Linked DNA regions of Homo sapiens: region 1 is linked to region 2. Evidence: promoter capture Hi-C in 16 types of primary human blood cells and fetal thymus (Javierre and others, 2016). All regions are on one chromosome and are shown on one strand. The core of a region is centred on a gene start or on the middle of the fragment in contact, and the rest is flanking DNA. Distances in the headings are between cores, read along the strand shown. Region 1 overlaps MARF1 (meiosis regulator and mRNA stability factor 1). Region 2 holds the start of DEXI (Dexi homolog).

Region 1 (4,507 bases), core at 675-3,174, 4.7 Mb before region 2:
GTAGGGAGCATTTTGGTTGGCACAAGAGATACAGTGGTGAAAATAGACAGTGGGGTTCATTTATCTAATTTTTTTTTTCTCTGTAATGCAGTGGCGGGGAGAAATTAGCCACATTTTGCATAGGAGGAAACAGAAACTTGAAAACAAAAATTTTTTTAGAGATGGAATCTCACTCTGTTGCCCACGCTGAAGGGCCAGTGGCACAATATAGTTCACTGTAGCCTCAAATTCTTGGGCTCAAGAGATCCTCCTACCTCAGTCTCTCTAGTAGCTGGGACTAGGCGCATGCTGCCACACTATGCTAATTTTTTGAACTTTATTTTATTTTAGAGCTGTGATCTTGCTATATTGCCCAGGCTGACAAAAGAGCCACGTAGTAAATATAGGCTTTGTGGGCCATACAGTCTCTTTGCAGAGACTCTCTTTGCAACTCTGCAATTGGAATGCAAAAGCAGTCATAGGCAGTATTTAAGTGAATGAGTGTGTCTGTGTCCCAATTAAACTTTATTTATGGACACTGACATTTTAATTTCATGTAATTTTGTTTGTTGGTTTTTGAGACAGGGTCTCACTCCGTCGCCCAGGCTGCAGTGCAGTGGTGCAATCACAGCTCACTGCAGCCTTGACTACGCAGTCTTAGGTGATTCTTCCACCATAGCCTCCTGAGTAGATGGGGCTACAGGCATGCACCACCACGCTCAGCTAATTTTTTGTAGCCATGGGGTTTTGCCATGTTGCCCAGGCTGGTTGGGAACTCCTGGGCTCAAGCAATCCACCCACCTTGGCCTCCCAAAGTGCTGGGATTGCAGGCCTGAGCCACGGTGCCTCGCTTGCATTTATTGTTAAGACCTGTAAGAGTGTTGTTGCTCTGGCGTAGATATAACACATCTGCGACTTGAGATTTTTCTATCAGTTAGATTTTTGGTGGTATATCAGATTGCACTTTCATCATTAGTAAACTAAGAAATTGGTTCAATTTGTTCTGTAGCAAATCAAATTCAAAGTCCACAGAGGCCACTTAGTTTGGACTTTTCATGCTCAGATCAAGAAACCAGTGCAAGAAGTTGCTCTTAAGTCAATTTTAAAATCTTACATATAGTTGTCAATGAGGATGTGGTGGTGGCTCTTTTACTCAGATTAGATGCTCTCTTCTGTTAACTTTTGACTTTCCTGAGCAGCATCTTTAGGGAGAGAGAGCCGAAAAGAATTCAGAAAAACTGTAGAAAAAATTGATTCCAGCCAAGTGAGGAGGTGAAGTCTCACTCTGGAATATGCAAGTTTCCAAGATATGGCTACCTCTCTCAAACATGGTTACATGTGGAAAGGAAACAAGACTCATGGAGAGTTCATTTTTTATTTGAAGAGCTATGAAACATGAAGAATGGCAGATTATAGATTTTTTAAGAAATCAGGTTGTTGCAGTTAGATTTTAAGCATAAACAGTCAACCAAGTTTACCAAATTTTATTAACCCGTAATATGCTCTGATATTTTGTGTTTTTTTCTTTCTTTATTTTATTATTATTATTTTGTTTGTTAAGATTTGAATTGTTGGCCGGGCGCAGTGGCTAATGCCTGTAATCCCAGCACTTTGGGAGGCCGAGGAGGGTGGATCACTTGAGGTCAGGAGTTCAAGACCAGCCTGGCCAACTTGGTGAAACCCCATCTCTACTAAAAATATAAAAATTAGCCAGGCATAGTGACAGGCTCCTGTAGTCCCAGCTACTCTGGAGGCTGAGGCAGAAAAATCGCTTGAACCCGGGAGACGGAGGTTGCAGTGAGCTGAGATCGTACCACTGCATGCCAGCCTGGGCGACAGAGCGAGACTTCCTCTTGAAACAAAGATTTGAATTGTTGAGAGCCATAGGACTGTAAATATAGCTGTGGTTTCACATTTTAGTATGTTGTAAAATTTGTACTTATGCAAGGAAATAACACTGAAATCTTACTCATTCTTAACAGGGTGGAAGAATGAAAGAAAAGAAAGATGAAAGGATGTTGAATCACTTTGCATGGCTGTATGATGGAAGGAAACGGAACTGAGAACTCCTGCAGTAGAACACGTGGATGGCTTCAACAAGATAATGATGCTAAGCCATGGCTTTGGAAATTCTCTAATTGCTTTTCTCGTCCTGAGCAGACGCTGCCACATAGTCCCCAAACGGTAACTATATGCAAGACTAAGGATGTAGCAGATTCCTCATCCAAATAGATGAGAGAGGTCCATTTGGTCTGGGATACAGTCTCTCATCCTAGAGTCTGTGCCACATTTTTCTGTAGATCTTGCCTGTATTGCCTCTTATACCACATTATAATGTGAGAGCACAGCACAATTTTTTAACTCTTCTATTTCACTTTGAGTAACAGTAGATGCCTTGAATATTTAATGTTAAAATTTGGGAAAGATTTCTTCCTCATTAAAGTCACAGGTAACAAAGATTAAAAATCCACATTGTGGAGTAAAATCAGAGGAAAATACAAAATATGTTGTATTTTACTGTAGCCCTCTTGAGTTTTGAGTCTATAATCTAGGAAGGGTTGGGAAGAGCTTATCCACTGCCTGTTTTTTATTTCGAGATTTCTCTTGAATATTTACTTCTCAGTATACATTTATGTCTCTAACTTCTTGCTTACTCATTGTGATTTTGACATTTTCTTTTTTTTTTTTGAGGTGCAGTCTTGCTCTGTGGCCCAGGCTGGAGTGCAGTGGTGCGATCTCGGCTCATTGCAACCTCTGCCTCCCAGGTTTAAGCAGTTCTCCTGCCTCAGCCTCCTCAGTAGCTGGGATTACAGGCCTGTGCTGCCATGCCTGGCTAATTTTTGTATTTTTAGTGGAGACGAGGTTTCGCCATGTTGGCCAGGCTGGTCTTGACCTCCTGACCTCAAGTGATCCTCCCGCCTCAGCCTCCCAAAGTGCTGGGATTACAGGCGTGAGCCACCGCGTCCAGCCAATTTTGACATTTCCTGACTTCATGCACTCATGTTACCACCTTTCTATTTCTTATTTTCTATTGTATGTGGGATTCAAGTGAGACTGTAATATAATTTTATATAAGGGTATTAACAACTTTTATTTGATTTTATTTTTTGAGACAGAGTCTCGGCTCAGCCCCCTAGGCTGGAGTGCAGTGGCACGATCCGGGTTCACTGCAACCACTGTCCCTAGTTCAAGGGATTCTCCCGTCTCAGCCTCCCTAGTAGCTGGGTTTACAGGCACTCGCCATTATGCCTGGCTAATTTTTGTATTTTAGTAGAGATGGGGTTTCACCGTGTTGGCCAGGCTGGTCTTGAACTTCTGACCTTAGGTGATCCACCCGCCTCGGCCTCCCAAGTGCTAGGATTACAGGCGTGAGCCACCGCGCCTGGCCGGGTATTAATAACTTTTTAAAAACCAGTTTAATTCTCTATTTTCTCTAGGTTTTCACTATATAGTTGTCTTTGTTGCAAGACATCAAGTAATTTGGGTCATTTTAGGAGTGTTTTATTTTAGAGACAGTTGACAGTGAGGGTTGGCATCAAAAGCAAGGCTTCCTGGGATGGGGTGGTAGATCTGGTCCTCATGGAGTCACACAATTCAGAATTACACGGTCAACTTTACAGATCTTGAAACTCAATTTTGTCAGTGGCATGCAGAATGGAGTAGGTTCAGGGGATCAACTCATAGTAAGCCTGCCTGTATGAGCCTGATCTGTATAAATCAGAATACCAGTGTGTTAATTTCAGTCTGAACTATAATTACCAAGAGGGCAGTTCATTGGCTGGTCAGCCCGTTGCTGTTATCTCCCTTTTAGGGAAAGTTTAGCTGAAAATTCACATTTCTTCCAGATGAGCCTATGCTCCCAGGTGAGTGTAGAATCACAGCAAAGGGAGTGGAATTTTAGGCGTCAGATGGACCCTCATATGCTGTGAACGGTGAGCACGTCTCAGTCACTGTAGCAGGGCCCCCTCTTCATCTTAATGTCTCTTGCAGTCAGCCTGTGAAGGCTGATGAATTCAGTCCCCTTTCAGTGGCTAGGTACTGTGCCAGGTGGTCTATGTGCTCTATCTTATTTTATCCTCCTAGCAACTCTAGGAGGTATATTGTATTCCCAGTTTATGGATGAGGAAACCAAAGTGTAGGTTAAGTAACTTACCCAAGGTCATACAACTATTGAGTATCAGATTCTAACCCAGGTCTCTGCCACTGATGCTCTGCTCAGAACCTTTGTAATATACTGGCTTCCTGTGTCTGTGTTGGAGTCATGTGGCAAACTATTTGTCTTGGATCTTTTTCTTGGATAGTTTTCTAATTCTCTAAATCTTTTCACTGGCTGCAATATAATTGTCATTATGGCTTTAGGTCATGATATCTTAGGGTTTATGAAATGTCATCAGCAACACGGATGGGCCATCTGGGTAGATGGCTGATCTCATCTGTGTTTGAAACTTTACTCTTTTCCTTTGGGGGATCTTACTAAAACCCCTTATGGCCTGACCACAGAACTATTAAGTATTGTCCTCAAACCACT
Region 2 (4,525 bases), core at 1,641-4,140:
TCTGTTCTTTTATAATAATTAATGCCGTTTAATGAGCAATTGTACGTGTTCTGAGCTTAACGTTCATTCTCTTATCCAACCAACTCTCAACACAATAGCAGGAAGCAGGTGCTGTCACTCTACTCTTTTTACAAGTGGGGAACCTGAGGCCTACATTCACACAGATAGATTCGGACCCAGATCTGCCCGACTCCAGGACCCAGGCCTTTGACCCTCTAAGCTGTTCAGTTTAAGAAGTACCCCGCCAGGAAACTTGGTGGACACCGTCAAGAACAAAGTCTGTGTCCATAAACTGAAATCGCATCCTCTCGCTTTACAGGTGGGGATACGGAGACTCTGAGAAATTAAGCGACTTGTCCAAGGTCACACAGCCAAGAGCGACGGGGTCAGGGTTCGAACCCAGGCGCCCTGACTCCCGAGCCCTCGCTCTTAACCACCACACGGGCTTCCCCGGGCGCCCTTCGCCGCCGCTCTCACGCCTCCTAGAGCCCCGACCCGGAGCTCGGCGCCCCGTCCCCCTGTCCAGCCCCGAGGCCTCCCGCTACGCCCCCCACACTCACTTGAGGTGGTCCAAGGAGTGGATGTTGCGGGAAGTCTTGCCATGGCCCCCGCCCACCCAGCTCCGCGAGCGGCCAAACATGTCGGCGGCCCCGACCCGTCTCTCGTCTCACGGTCTCATGCCGGACCAGCAGAGCGGCCCAGCGCCCGCGGCGGTAGCACAAGCGGAGGATGCGGCGGCGGAGGCGGTGGAGGAACCGCGAGCCGCCTTCCTCCCCGGCCCACAGCCCAGCACTGACATTCAGCCGGAACCGGCCGTTCGACCGCCGCGCTTTACGGCCGCCGCCGCGTGGGGCGCTGGGAAATGCAGTTCACCCGCGTGGCCTTCGGCGGCAGGACTCCGCGAACGGACTACAAGGCCCGGCATGCATCGTGCAACCGCGGGCCTACGGCCATCCACAAAAGGCGGGGCGAGAGGAGGAGCGACCGCAGAATCCTCCGGGTGGGCGGGAATTGGAAGCTTTGGGCGCAGTCCCGGAGAGGGAATCGGCGTAGATGGGTCAAGGAAAGTCACCACTGTAGTAACAATTACTAGATTTATAATAAGAATAAGAATAGTATTGGATGGTGTATACTATGCAAAGCCACTATCCTAAGGGCTTTACATATTAAGGTATTTAATTTTCACAACCATCCTATGAATTGGGTACTATTATCGAACCTATTTTATCATCAGGGAAACGGAGTCACTGAGAGGTTGACTTACCCAAGATCATGCAGTTAACAAGTGGCAAAACCAGGGTTCATAACCACGCACGCACCCTTATTTTTCATTCCCTTTATAAACCAAAACGGCACTAGATAACAACCTTATTTGTCCTGACAGCCTTTTTCTTTTTCCACTTCAATTAAGTGTGTGTGTGTGTGTGTGTGTGTGTGTGTGTGTGTGTGTGTGTGTGTGTGTGTGTTGGAAAAGGCTGGATGCAACAATGCACCAAACTGAACATTTTGTACTTCCAGAGGATTCCTCTGGTCTTCAGCCAGAATCCATGCTATTTCCCAAAGTACCACGTTAAAATGAAAAAGGAAACACCCAACTTTCTGCATGAGCCAGAATATATCTAACTTCTACCCTGGATTAGAAGTGGTAAGTTCAGTGTGGGCAAGACTTCTCAAGTTTACCATCCATTCATTCATTCAGTCACTTCTACATATCAACCTTATTAAAGGTCCACTGTGTCCCATTAACTCTGCTCAAGAAAGAACTGGGCCAGAGGCCAATGTTCTCCCCAGTGCCTAGCACAAGGTTTGGCACATAGCAGGTGTTTAACAAATATTGGTAGAGTGCATGAATGAGTAAAGGTTTGTTTCACCTTCAGCAGTTGGAGAAATGGATAAGAGTGGAGAGTTAATGGTTTGTCCTGTAATTCATATAGAGTGGGGCAAGACAAAGTCATGGAGCAAAAAAGAACAGGATCTGGCCTCCAAAGAAACACACCCAGGCTCAGAAATGTAGGATCCCTGGGCTCGTATTTTTCATCTGTAAAAAGTACGCACATACATACTACACTGCCTTGTATACCTCCGATTAAGCGATGCATGTAAAATACTCAGCTCAGTGTGGCCTGAGATTTAAAGGTTTCTTGAACTGCTTTGGAAGGCTCTTTGGGCGAGATCATGTTTTCCTGAAAGACATGCAACGGTTACCCAAGAGCAGGGGAACCAGTGGGTGGGAGAGACTCACTTTTCTGTGTACTTCACGGTTGTTTGAATGTTTAGCCATGTGTATTATTGCTTTTAAACATGATTCACAAAGTAAAAAGAAACAAAAAGCATCCTTATGGTTGAAGATCTGAACTACCTCGGAATCTCTTTATTCAGGTGTTCCTTAACTCTAGGATGCAGGTTCCGTAGTGGGCGGACCTTCCAGCAACCAGAGTTTGGAGAAGCGAAGGGGACACTGGTGGATCTCCACCATGAAAATTGGCGCTTTGGGAATGTCCAAAATTTCCAGGGCAACCGTCCGTCGCCCCTCCCCGACCCCGCCTCCTTTTAAAGGAGAAACGGAGTCCCAAAGAGGCATGCAGCAAGGTGCAGCGGTAGCCCGGGTTTCCTTCGGCTTTTGCGGCCTTAGCATTATGTCTAGGTTTGAACTGTGTTCAGTCTCTTTTACCTCCCCCTATTCGATACGCAGAGCGAATTCGATTTGAGATCTGAGGGCAGACCCGAACCAGGAAAGCAACTCAGACGCTAGGGCCCCGAGGGGCGGAGCGAAGCGGTACCCGCCCCCTGGCGGCCGGAGCCAATCAGCGCGGGCGTTGAGCCGGCCAATTAGCGCGTGCAGGGGGCGGCCTGCCAATGAGCTCGGGGCCCCTCGGGAGGCGGAGCTCCGAGCGCCACCGGGAGGGCTACGCGGCGGCCGCAGCCATGGGTGCTGGGCCTGCGGGGGCGCGGGGGGTGCGCGAGGACCTGCGGGGCGGGGCGGGAGAGAAGGCTGCCGGGACCGGCCCTAGACACTGAGCCGCGGTGGGATCCCCACCGGCTCTGCGAGGCCCTGCGAGCGCCAGGGAGGCGCCACGAGGGAGCCGGGCAGCCGCGGGCCACTTCAGGGGGGCCCGCCTCGCCGCCCGGGCGGTCGAGAGATCCTTGGGGGCACATCTCGGGGTGCGGTGACCCGCCCGGCGCATTTCGGGGGTCGGGGCGCAATTGCCAGGGGACATCTGGAGCCCGGCCCTGCTTCTGTCGGGCTCCAGGGTACCCCTGGATGGCTGCGCTGTGCCCTCGCCGGCCGCCCGGGCGCCGCAGCGGCTGAGTTCGCCGGGATCGCCGGGCCGCCGCCCTTGCCACCCGCTGCATGCTCGGCGCCCGGGTCGCGGCCCACCTGGACGCACTGGGCCCCCTGGTCCCCTACGTGCCGCCGCCGCTGCTGCCCTCTATGTTCTACGTGGGCCTGTTCTTCGTCAATGTGCTGATCCTGTACTACGCCTTCCTCATGGAGTACATCGTCCTCAACGTGGGCCTCGTCTTCCTGCCCGAGGACATGGACCAGGCGCTCGTGGACCTCGGCGTGCTCTCCGACCCCGGCTCGGGCCTTTACGATGCTGACTCGGAGCTCGACGTCTTTGATGCGTACTTGGAGTAGGGTCTCGACTGCTGTTCCCCTCTTCCCTACACGATCCGCAACCCATGCCCTGGACCAGCCGCCCAGATCATGCCGCCGCAGCTGGTTGGGGGCACCATCTGGACGGGGATGGTTCCCCAGGAGGAGACCCTCCCCTGCCTCCGAGGCCTGTAAGTGCCCTCTCTGAACAGGATGAGGGCGGGTTGGGGCGCTAGCAAGGGAGAGGGAGGAATTCCCAGGCCGGATACACACCCCTCCCTCAGGCTTCTCCTCCGTTCACCTCCTCCAGGTCTAACTGGATGCCAGGAATGGCCAGACTCCTCTTAAGCCCTTCGTTTGGGCTGGAAAGCTTCCTCCAGCAAAGGGGACAGCTGGTGAAAAGGAAGGAGACCCCGAGACTAAGTTACATTTGGGGTAGCTCTGTGACTTACCCCCAAAGCTTATGGAAAAAGCCTTCGCTCCCAAATCCATTTGAGGCAGAGCTGTCAGCTCCTCCTCCAGTCCTCATCCTGGCTTGATGATGACCTTGGCTTTTGGGGGATTCTCGCTTGTCCTAGAAGGATAAAGATTTAGGGGTGTCAGAAGACACAGGGAGCCAGGCACGAATCACCTTTGTACTGTGGCCCTTGGGGTAGCTGGGTGGGGATTAAGTGCAGGGGCTCTAGGCCAAAGCTGTGAGAGGAGAAATCGCAAGCAAAGAAGCCCGTACTTCCTTTTGGCCTTGGGTTTGCTGCTATTTTGGAGTCAGGTTTCAGGGTGCCCCAGCTCATCAGTTCTGCAGCTCAGAACTGCAGGGGCTGCCAGTTTTGTAGGCTCCCTTCACAGAACAGGCAGGCAGGGAGCTGGTGCCAGGGCTCGCTTTGTCTGCAGTGTTTGCAAGCGCTCAGGGGGCTCTTAGGTCCTCGG

Evidence for each region. Contacts are between HindIII fragments. The CHiCAGO score rates a contact against its expected background, and 5 or more counts as called.
Region 1: a contact is called between a fragment that was not itself captured here and the fragment with the promoter of DEXI in region 2, in 4 of 17 cell types (fetal thymus, non-activated CD4 T cells, activated CD4 T cells and 1 more). The highest score is 16.9, in fetal thymus.

What each region holds. Positions count from the first base shown.
Region 1 is chr16:15,636,746-15,641,252 of GRCh38, reverse strand. It overlaps MARF1 (meiosis regulator and mRNA stability factor 1), which reads left to right. Exons shown (of 27, transcript NM_014647.4): 2 at 1,962-2,163. The coding sequence starts at 2,020. Among named protein-coding and RNA genes, the nearest start is that of MARF1, 4.2 kb to the left of the region's middle. The HindIII fragment of the contact is 6,127 bases long and covers 1-4,507 here.
Region 2 is chr16:10,940,833-10,945,357 of GRCh38, reverse strand. DEXI (Dexi homolog) reads left to right here and starts at 2,890. Exons shown (of 2, transcript NM_014015.4): 1 at 2,890-3,789. The coding sequence starts at 3,353. The coding sequence ends at 3,640. CLEC16A (C-type lectin domain containing 16A) reads right to left here and starts at 794. Exons shown (of 24, transcript NM_015226.3): 1 at 561-794. The coding sequence starts at 640. It also overlaps a transcript of CIITA not described here. RefSeq lists enhancers at 722-781, 1,002-1,181 and a silencer at 2,751-3,300. The HindIII fragment of the contact is 2,950 bases long and covers 1,021-3,970 here.